Linked DNA regions of Homo sapiens: regions 1 and 2 are each linked to region 3. Evidence: promoter capture Hi-C in 16 types of primary human blood cells and fetal thymus (Javierre and others, 2016). All regions are on one chromosome and are shown on one strand. The core of a region is centred on a gene start or on the middle of the fragment in contact, and the rest is flanking DNA. Distances in the headings are between cores, read along the strand shown.

Region 1 (3,522 bases), core at 404-2,903, 480 kb after region 3:
CAAACTCCTGACCTCAGGTGATCCACCTGCCTCGGCCTCCCAGAGTGCTGGGATCGCAGGCATGAACCACTGCACCCAGCCAGCGTGGTATATTAAAAATACTTTCCTGCACATTAACAAATGTTCACCTCTCGGTGCAGCTCGCCTTGTAAGTGTGGTGGGGAAGCTAGGAGTCTGAGTGCACATGCAGGAGCTCTTCGCTGCAGGTCCCGAGTGGAGGGAGAGGTAATCTGTAGAGTGCCCCAAGAGTGAAGTGCTGCGTCCCAGTGTCAAACAGAGGTAACACCTCGCTTTTCTTTTCCTTTTTTTTAAACGGTGACGGGGGTCTCACCATGTTGCCCAGGCTGGTCTTGAACTCCTGGGCTCAAGTGTTCCTCCCACCTCAGACTCCCAAGTTCAGGGATAATAGGTGTAAGCCACTGAGCCCAACCTAAAACTCGCTTTTAAATAAAGAACTCAGGCCGGGTGCGGTGGCTCACACCTGGAATCCCAGCACTTTGGGAGGCCGAGGCAGATGGATCACCTGAGGTCAGGGGATTGAGACCATCCCGCCCAACATGGTGAAACCCCGTCTCTACTAAAAATACCAAAATTAGTCGGGCGTGGTGGTGGGTGCCTGTAGTCCCAGCTACTCTGGAGGCTGAGGTGGGAGAATCACTTGAACCCGGGAGGTGGAGGTCACAGTGAGCCGAGATGGCACCACTGCACTCCAACCTGGGCGACAGGAGCAAAAACTCCATCAAAAAAAAAAAAAAAGGAAGGAGAAAGAAAGAAAGAATACACTGATCTCTCTTATAGTGTATACTGTCTATTACTACTGATTTTAAAGCTACAACCTTAAGCATCATACTCCCTGTGTTTAGAATATTCAGGGTGTAGTATTGTGGTTCACATTGTAGTATTGTGGTTCTCCATTGTGGTTCCCCGGAAGTGATCAAGGTGATACTTTACATTCAGGGTGTCCAGTCTTTAGGCTTTCCTGGGCCACATTGGAAAAAGTATTGTCTACACTAACAAGAGCTGGTAAGCTGAAAAAATCACAAAAATCATAATGTTTTAAGAAAGTTTATGAATTTGTATTGGGCCACATTCAAAGCCATCCTGGGCTGCATGCAGCCCACGGGCCGTGGGTTGGACAAGCTTGTTTTAAGAGTTTAGGAAGAAAAATAATACTTCTGGTTATTTTTTTCATCCTGCTTAGTTGCTATTTTTCTGTTTTACAGTGTGCAATACTGTAATATAATTTATACATATATTAATATATTGTTGCCAGCTTATTTTTACTTTAAACTTTTTTTTGAGGAATATTTCACATAAAACAAACTTAAGGGTACCTTTCAAAGAGTTTTGACAGCTGTATACACCATGTAGCCGAAATCACAATCAAAATAATAGATCCAGATATTACCCCTCACCCCAAACCTTCCTCTTGCCCCTTGGCAGTCAGCCTCATCCCCCTGGAGAGTCCCAGACACTCAACTCTGTGCCTCCCCTCCCGTAGAAGTGTTTTCTTCCAGGGTTTCATAAACATGGAATCATGTAGAATATACTGGTGTTTGGCTCGCTCTTATTCACATGGTATATTTGAGGTTCATCAGTGTTACTTGTGTGGGCAGTTTTCCTTTGCGATTGCTGGGCGGCAGCTGAGTGGATTCTCTTCTATGGATGTACCCCCATTTGTGGATCCATTCACCTACGGCTGACTGTCTAGACAGTGTCCAGTCTGGGCTGCTGTGCATCACGCTGCTGTGAACGTCTGTGTAGGAGTCACATTTGTGTGAACTGGTGCTCTCACTTCTCTTGGCAGATAACTACAAGTACGAGTGGTGGGGCCAGGTGGTCAGTGTGCATTTATTTCACAGAAAAGCTGACCCACTTTTCCAGAGCAGTTGCACCAGTTTGTATTCTTGCTGGCAGTATGTGACAGCTAGTTGCTCCATATCCTTGTCAGCACTTGGTTTTGTCAGTCTTCTTATATTAGCCATTATCTGGGTGTGTAGTGGTATGTCAGTATGTGTATTTTTTTTTAATACTTTGGATCATTTACATCAACCGTGGTTTAATTTGCCTTGCTGTTGAGCATCTCTACATGTGCTTTTGGCCATTTCTATGTCATCTGTAGTGAATGACCATTTTTAATGGGTTGTTTACCTTCTTACTGAATATTAAGCTTTGTTTATATACCCTGAACAGAAGTCCTTTGTGAGATAGGTGTATTGTGAATATTTTCTCCCATTCCATCCTTTGCCCTGTTTGTTGATACTGTATTTCATATATTCAAATATTGATTTCTACTTAATTTTTCACTTAGAGGTGTACAGTCAAAAGCATTTGGAGGCTACTGCTCAGCTGAATTAGCAGAAGGAATTGCTGTGGACTGAATAGAGGAAGGAAAGGACCCAGGCGCTGTCCCACAGCCTCTCCCGTGACCTCACCCTGGGGGAGGCATGGGTGTTTGGCAGAGAGCCCTTTTTGGTTTTACGTGAATGTCATTTGGGCGGGTGTGGGGTAGAATGATCTCAAGAGCATTCTCACCTCCGAGGAGCGGTTGCGTCTCGATGCATCGGCACAGGAGGGCTGTGCACTTTCCACTGCCACCACCCGTGAGACCTCCAGAGAGCCTGACCCTGCCATCTGCACTAAGATCCCCAGCTGTTGTCTGGTGATCCAGATGAGAGGACCAGCGTGATAGTTTCTCACAGCAGCCTCTGGCAGGACCTGGAGTGGAAATCTTCCTTAGTCTAAAACACATCCCGAATGACTGAACATTATAGGAGAATGTGTCTTTGTTTTACGAGGCCACTTGAAGTCCACCTCCCTCCTCTTCTGGGTGTGGCCCTTGCCTGTAGCTCCGAGTGTGAGGATCTTAAGTGTGAGGGTGTGTGCTCCTGAGCCAGCCTTTACCCCAACACCAAGTTGCCACACCGAACTGCAGACCTGGCAGCCCTGTCCAGCAACTTCCTTATCACAGTTACAGTGCAGCAAATGGGAGAGGGGCCAAAACCCCCAAAATTATTCTCCTTATTACAGTTACAGTACAGCAAATGGGAGAGGGGGGCCAAACCCCCAAAATTATTCTCCTTATTACAGTTACAGTACAGCAAATGGGAGAGGGGCCAAAACCCCCAAAATTATTCTCCTTATTACAGTTACAGTGCAGCAAATGGGAGAGGGGGGCCAAAACCCCAAAATTATTCTCCTTATTACAGTTGCAGTGCAGCAAATGGGAGATGGGGGGCAAAACCCCCCAAATTACTCTCCTTATTACAGTTGCAGTGCAGCAAATGGGAGATGGGGGCCAAAACCCCCCAAATTACTCTCCAAGCCAAAGGAAAACTCTGGATGCTCGATAGCCACTTACAGAGCTGCTCATCACATGCGTTGTTGGAACACCTAACACTAGCCTCCTGGTTATGAATGTTTCTGGAATCGAGCCTCCCTGATATGTGCCTACAGAAGCGGATCTGCCTGAGGACATCCGCCATTTCCTAATATTTATACCTTAGAATATAGAGCCAGCTT
Region 2 (3,684 bases), core at 611-3,110, 280 kb after region 3:
TGTCCAGGCCTTCTCCCTGTAACCGGTTGGGGAAATAAACACGTGCTTCCTCCCCAGTTCAGCTGCGTCTCGTTATGGGGCCCGACCCTCAGTTTGGTCCGGGAACGGGGGCTGCCTCTCGTCCGAGGACCTGCTGCTACTCCTGGTCGTGGCTGCAGCTCTGTCCGCCTTTCTGTCCGGCTTTCCATCCGGGGTGCCAGCTCGCCGCTGTCCCCACATCTGGCTCCCGTGTTCCCGGCTGTCACGCAGGGTCACGTCGTCCCCAAAGTTCTGCTAACACGAATGAAGTCTCGTTGGTGTGACATCAAACAGCTACGAAGGCCGTTTCTGTGACCCGGAGGCCACACGCCGAGTCTCCGGGACGAAGCCTCGCTTGGCAGAGCCGCCGGGGCCTGGTCTCTGTGTTCTGTGCCACAGATGCCACACGACTGTTTCCCACTCCCTGTGTTTACGTGGGACCCAAAGATAACTGTTTTCCCGAAATTAATATAATTCCTAAGATAATTTTTCATGAAATTGGAAAAACTGGTTCTAAAATTCATACGAAGGCCGGTGTGGTGGCTCCCGCCTGTAAATCCCAGCACTGTGGGAGGCCGAGGCGGGCGGATCACGAGGTCAGGAGATCAAGACCATCCTGGCTAACACGGTGAAACCCCGTCTCCACTAAAAAAATACAAAAAATTAGCCAGGTGTGGTGACGGGCGCCTGTAGTCCCAGCTACTCAGGTAACTGAGGCAGGAGACTGGCGTGAACCCGGGAGGCGGAGCTTGCAGTGAGCCGAGATCGCGCCACTGCACTCCAGCCTGGGCGACAGAGCAAGACTCTGTCTCAAGAAAAAAAATAAAAATAAAAAATAAAATTCGTACGAAAGAGCAAAGAGGGCCGGGCGTGGCAGCTCACGCCTGTAACCCCAGCACTTTGTGTCACGTGCGTCCATGTGAAGAGACACCAACAGGCTTTGTGTGAGCAACAAGGCTGTTTATTCACTTGGGTGCAAGTGGGCTGAGTCCGAAAAGAGTCAGCAAAGAGAGGTAGGGGTGGGGCCGTTTTATAGGACTGGGGTAAACAGTGGAAAGTTACAGTGAAAGGTGGTTACCTATTGTCAGCAGAGGAGGGGGTCACAAGGTACATGGTGGGGAGATCATAAGACTCATTGTCCGGAAGAAGAATGTCACGAGGTCGATCGATCAGGTGGGACAGGGCAGGAACAGGTCATCATGGAATGTCGTAAGGTTGGTCAATCAGTTAAGACAGGAGCTGGCTGTTTCATTCTTTTGTAGATTTGGGTTGCCCCAGACTTCTTGGCTCTTGCAGGCCATCTGGACATACATGTGCAGGTCACAGGGGTTACAATGGCTGAGCTTCGGCTCAGAGGCCTGACACACCTGACACAAGGGAGCGTGTGTCTGAGGGCGCAGCAGCCAAGGAGCGGCTTCCCCTCCCCAGGAGGGCTCCGAGGGGGAAGTCAGGAAGCTGTTTCTTGCACACGCGAGTGTGAAGCTGCAAACTGCTCAGCGGCAGGTTCGGGTTTAAAAACTCAAAACTTAAAAAAATTAGCTAGCCGCCACAGTGTGGGGGGAAGAACCACTCTGCTTTTAAATACAAGAGATGGCACAAGATTTCGGGATAGTGCCCATGTGGGCGACCCCGACCCGGTCCCCGCCCTGCTTGTGCCAAGGATCCTCAGGCACCCGGGGCTTCCTGTTTATACAGCAGAACGCCCTCTCTCTGGAGACAGAGAGACAGAAGGGTCCCAGCCTGAACACCCCCCTCTGGAGACAGAGAGACTGAGGGGGTCCCAGCCTGAACGCCCCCTCTCTGGAGACAGACTGAGGGGGTCCCAGCCTGAACGCCCCCTCTCTGGAGACAGACTGAGGGGGTCCCAGCCTGAACGCCCCCTCTCTGGAGACAGAGAGACAGAGGGGTCCCAGCCTGAACGCCCCCTCTCTGGAGACAGACTGAGGGGGTCCCAGCCTGAACGCCCCCCTCTGGAGACAGGCTGAGGGGGTCCCAGCCTGAACGCCCCCTCTCTGGAGACAGAGAGACTGAGGGGGTCCCAGCCTGAACGCCCCCTCTCTGGAGACAGAGAGACTGAGGGGTCCCAGCCTGAACGCCCCCTCTCTGGAGACAGACTGAGGGGGTCCCAGCCTGAACGCCCCCTCTCTGGAGACAGACTGAGGGGGTCCCAGCCTGAACGCCCCCTCTCTGGAGACAGAGAGACAGAGGGGTCCCAGCCTGAACGCCCCCCTCTGGAGACAGGCTGAGGGGGTCCCAGCCTGAACGCCCCCTCTCTGGAGACAGAGAGACTGAGGGGGTCCCAGCCTGAACGCCCCCTCTCTGGAGACAGAGAGACTGAGGGGGTCCCAGCCTGAACGCCCCCTCTCTGGAGACAGAGAGACAGAGGGGTCCCAGCCTGAACGCCCCCCTCTGGAGACAGGCTGAGGGGGTCCCAGCCTGAACGCCCCCTCTCTGGAGACAGACTGAGGGGGTCCCAGCCTGAACGCCCCCTCTCTGGAGACAGAGAGACTGAGGGGTCCCAGCCTGAACGCCCCCCTCTGGAGACAGAGAGACTGAGGGGGTCCCAGCCTGAACGCCCTCTCTCCGGGCTCTTCCACCAGAGCTAAGACCTTCTGATTTTCTTGTCTTGTCTTTTGAGACAGGGTTTTGCTCTTGTCACCCAGGCTGGAGTGCAATGGTGCGTTCTTGGCTCACTGCAACCTCCGCCTCCCAGGCTCAAGTGATTCTCCTGACTCAGCCTCCTGAGTAGCTGGGATTACAGGTGCCTGCCACCACGCCCGCCTAATTTTTGTATTTTAGTAGGGACGAGGTTTCACCGTGTTGGCCAGGCTGATCTTGAACTCTTGACCTCAGGTGATCCCCACACCTCGGCCTCCCAAAGTTCTGGGATTACAGGCGTGAGCCACTGCACCCAGCCAATGCCTTCTGGTTTTTCTGATTTTTCTGATCTCTCATTTTCCTTTCTAGAAGGGAGGCCTCTTGTCATCCTATCTCTACCCGCAGAAAATAGGATTTGAGTTTCTATTTGAGTGCTGGGACCAGCGTTGGAGGGAGGGAAGACATCAGAGCCAGAGCCCCTCCAAGACTGCCCCCCAGGGCCTGGGGCTGCAGGGGGCTGGCCCTGCTGGGAAGGAGAGGCTGCCAGGTGGGGTCCTGGGCCAAGGTCCCAGCATAAACACCCACGAAACCCCCTGGGCTGGCCGGCTGCCACCCTGCCCTGCTCCTCGCCTCATAGCTTTCCACGAGACCCCCTGGGCTGGCCGGCTGCCACCCTGCCCTGCTCGCCTCATAGCTTTCCTTCACCTCTCTCTCCTTCACAAACTCACCCAGCCCCACGTCTGACACACATTTCTAAATCTATCTTCCTTGTCAATAATTCAACCAACGCTTTTATTTGTCAAAGAGAAACCTGCCATAGTGGGAATTTACAGCCACAGTCCCCACGACGTAAATGTTTCCCTCTCACATTTGGAAACCTGCTGTGTTGGAATTGAATAGTAAATAGGAGAATTATAATAAATGAAATAAGCCAGCCGTCCCTGAAATACGATTGCTCCTCAGGACTTGAGGCTGATCTGAGCCAATTCTTCCACTGATCTCTACGCAGAGCCTCGGGAACTCCTAGAGGAGCATAAGTTCCAAACTGGAGACGCACATGCAGGGGCA
Region 3 (3,642 bases), core at 912-3,411:
CAGGTCCCCAGAACCAGCAGTGTCTCCAGTTGGGGCAGTGGGACAGTCAGAGCAGTGGTTTGTCGGCATCAGACTCAGGGGCTCTATTTGCCCAGCTGCCTAAGCTCAGAAGGTGCTGAATGGAACCCCCACCCTGCACGGTCTGGAACCAAGTAACACCTCCTCAGGGGCCCGGTGAGGTAGCAGGCTCAGCCCCACACACAGCAGTGCAAGGGGGTAATGGGGACCCTGTATCAGCAATCATGTTTATGCAGAGGGAGCTCCCTGAGGGAAGAGAGAGCCAGTAGGGCTCGGCCCCTAGCCCCCAAGGCCTGAGGACAGCCACCCTCCAGAGGCGGAGCACAGAGGACAGCTGGCTCCAGCCTGAGCCACTGTCACGACAGAGGCAGGGCCTGCCGTCCTCCAAGCTCACCACACCTGGGGCTGCACTGAGCTGGCTCTGGCCCCTGCCCCAGGTGCCCCCATGCTCCACATGGAGCTCACCTCTCTTGGCTATCATCTGTGGGCAGCCCAAGTTCAGGTCAATGGCGTCACAGTAATCCTGAGCCAGGAGAGCCGCCTGAACAAACACCTCCGGGTCATTGGCACAGAACTGGAGAAGATGCAGGAGTCAGCCACGGGCCCAGCCAGGCCCTAGTCCCTTGCTGCCCAGCCCTACGAGAGGTCCAGTGTGACCCCATGAGGGTGTGGGCCCAGGTTCACTGCAGGAGGGTGCTCTGTCCTGCGGAGGCTTACAATATGACAAAGCCGGGAGGAGTCCCCAAGCCACCCGGATTTACAGATTTTCTTCTGAACTGTGGCAGAAGCCACAATCACTGACTTCTGAAGAGCAGAGCCATCTCCACTGGTTCTGAAGAGGGAGTGTGAGTGTGAGAGGCAGCAATCCAGAGGCCCCAGCAGGGCTGCAAACCTCACAGCACCCAGGCTGCCTGAGCCACTCCTAGAGAATGGGGTTGGATTCTGGCAGGTGCACCTGGCAGCCCTGGCTCCACCACAGGAATCACTGCTGTGGCTACGTGGACTCTACATGCCTGGTGCCACCTTCTCCCTCTCCTCCTGGAATTGAGCTGTCTCTGGAAAGGCTGAAAGTGATGTCCCGCCACAGAGAGAAGGGTTTTTCCCCAGGCATTCCAGGACCGGGAACCCAACCGCGGCCGCGGCCACAGCCCCTCCTGCGCACCTGCACGATGAGGGGCCGGTCCTCGGGGCACACCTCGCAGTACAGGTTCTCCTTCCGGTAGTTGGCGTCGCGGACAAAGACCTGGGCATGCAGCATGGGCGTGTAGCAGAGCTGTGCCCCGTGGCGCCGGCTCAGCAGCCTCCAGGCCAGCTCGCTCTGGTCCACCATGGGGGCCACGACGTGGCGGGCCCCTCGCAGGGTGCGGCTCCAGAACTCGAAGCCCTGCAGCTTTGGCATCGTCTCCAGGCTGGGGGAAAGGCGCAGACCCGGGGTTCAGCCAGGCCCAACGAGGGGCTTAAGACTCAACTCAGAGGCAGCGGTCACCCTTCTAAGGCCGCTCCAGTACCACCGTTGGGTCACACGCGGGGGCACTAAAGGCGGGGGTCGGTGCAGGCTGGAGAACGGCCACTCCAGTGCCGCCACCTCCTAGCGGACCTCGGGGGAGCCGCTGGACCCCTGGGACTTGACCCTCCCTGGGGAGCGGGACTCGATGTCGGCCTGGTAGGGGACTGGCGTGAAGGGGGAAGAAACCTTGACGCCAGCGTCCCCGCGGGCCTGGCCCTGAGCAGGCCGCCCGGCGGTGAAGTTAGGACCCCCGGCCCCTTCCCGGGAGAATCGGCTCCGCGCCGGGCCAGGGGAAGGGCAGAGCTTCCTTCTCCGCACCCGGCCAGGCGGCCCGGCTGGCCCGAAACGCCACAGGGGCGCCCCTCGCGAGACTCCTCCGGAGCCACGCGGCGGGCAGCGTTTGCTGTGTGAAGTGACAGGAGCCCACACGCCTCCGCGTCCTCACCGCGCGAGGGCCCCGCCGTGTCCGCCGCGCGCCTTTGGCTCCGAGGGCGCCGGGTGCCGGTGTCCCGGGCCCGCCCCTCTCCGGCCTCGCCGCCGCCCGGGGCCCCTGCAGCTCCCGGGGCGCCGCGAACGCCCGCACCGCGCCGGGGCCGCCGCCGGGCCGCAGCCGGGCCCAAGGCTCCGCGCCGCCACCGGAAGGTGCCCGGTCCTGCGCGGTCCGGGCGGCCCACGGTGCGGCGGGAAACGCGTTCCCCGGAAACCGCGCCCGGCTCCGAGGGGACCGGCGACGAGAGGTCGCGGCGCGGGGTCGGAGGTCAGAGGCTGAGGTCACCACCGTACCCGTCAGGCCGTGGCTAGAGAGGGGTCGGGGCTCGCCGGGACTCACCGACAGCTCGCTGGAAACGAGGCATGTGGAAATTGGGCCTCGCTGAGGCGCACATAAGGCCCGGGCCGCGGGTAGACCGTGGGCGCTGAGGCCCTGCGCTGCCCAGCCCCCAAGTTCGCATTGGGGGCTTCATCCCGTTATATCCTAAAGCGGCCCCAGAGCCCTGCCTCGAACCCACTCACCTGCCGCCTCTGAAAGCCACTCACTTTCCGCCGCTGCGTTGCGGAAAATCACCCTCCAGGGACCTTCCTTGCCCGCCCTGGGTTTCCGCAGCCGCCAGCCTTCGATCGACTTTCCTACCCGCCGTGGACCCTCCTTGGGTTATTTCGAGCTGTGGGGACCCACTGGGAACCCCAGAGTGGATGTGAAGGTTATTTTAAACTGAAGGCATTTGAGACCCAACAGATGTAAAAAGCAGCTTTGTCAGAGCTTTCCATATCTGAGAGCGAAGCCCGAAGTTGAACCAGGACATTCAGTACCTAAAACATGTGAAATCTCTTGGGCCCCCGGAATCACTAAGGAAAACTCAGGCTGGAAGCTGCTCAGGGCAAACCTGCCTCCCGCTCTATTCAGAGTCACCCTCTGCTCGCTGAGATAGATGGATATCTGACTGACTCCTTTGAAAAGGCTCATCAGAAGGCTGGGCGCGGTGGCGCACATTGAGACCAGGAGTTCGAGACCAGCCTGGCCAACACGGTGAAACCCTGTCTCTACTGAAAATACAAAATTAGCCAGGTGTGGTGGTGCGCCCCTGTAGTCCCAGCTACTCGGGAGGCTGAGGCAGGAGAATCGCTTGAACCTGGGAGGCGGAGGTTGCAGTGAGCCGAGATCAAGCCATTGTACTCCAGCCTGGCGACAGAGCAAGACTGATCAAAAAGGAAAAGAAAAAAAAAAAAGGCTAATCAGAAACTCAAAACAATGTAACCGTTTGTGTATCACCTATCTGTGACCAGGAAGCTCCCTCCCCGATGGCTTTTGCTTTAAATTGTCCCGCCTTTCCAGACTGAACCAATTTTTTTTTTTGAGACGGAGTCGCTTTCTGACCCAGGCTGGAGTGCGGTGGCGTGATCTCGGCTCACTGCAACCTCCATCTCCCAGGTTCAAGCGATTCTCCTCCCTCAGCTTCCCAAATAACTGGGATTACAGGCACCCACCAACACACCCAGCTAATTTTAGTATTTTTAGTAGAGATGGGGGTTTCACCATGTTGGCCAGGCTGGTCTCGAACTCCTGACATCAGGTGATCCGCTGGCCTCCCAAAGTGCTGGGATTACAGGCGTGAGCCACC

What was found. Contacts are between HindIII fragments. The CHiCAGO score rates a contact against its expected background, and 5 or more counts as called.
Region 1: a contact is called between a fragment that was not itself captured here and the fragment with the promoter of DUS1L in region 3, in 1 of 17 cell types (non-activated CD4 T cells). The highest score is 6.1, in non-activated CD4 T cells.
Region 2: a contact is called between a fragment that was not itself captured here and the fragment with the promoter of DUS1L in region 3, in 1 of 17 cell types (activated CD4 T cells). The highest score is 5.5, in activated CD4 T cells.

What each region holds. Positions count from the first base shown.
Region 1 is chr17:82,546,336-82,549,857 of GRCh38, forward strand. All of the region lies in intron 1 of FOXK2 (forkhead box K2), which reads left to right. Among named protein-coding and RNA genes, the nearest start is that of FOXK2, 28 kb to the left of the region's middle. The HindIII fragment of the contact is 1,030 bases long and covers 1,139-2,168 here.
Region 2 is chr17:82,345,452-82,349,135 of GRCh38, forward strand. No RefSeq gene overlaps it. Among named protein-coding and RNA genes, the nearest start is that of TEX19, 12 kb to the right of the region's middle. The HindIII fragment of the contact is 4,241 bases long and covers 1-3,684 here.
Region 3 is chr17:82,063,643-82,067,284 of GRCh38, forward strand. It overlaps DUS1L (dihydrouridine synthase 1 like), which reads right to left and starts at 2,162. Exons shown (of 14, transcript NM_022156.5): 1 at 1,971-2,162; 2 at 1,181-1,427; 3 at 484-592. The coding sequence starts at 1,417. RefSeq lists an enhancer at 802-1,530 and silencers at 1,754-1,803, 2,094-2,163, 2,174-2,233. The HindIII fragment of the contact is 12,631 bases long and covers 1-3,642 here.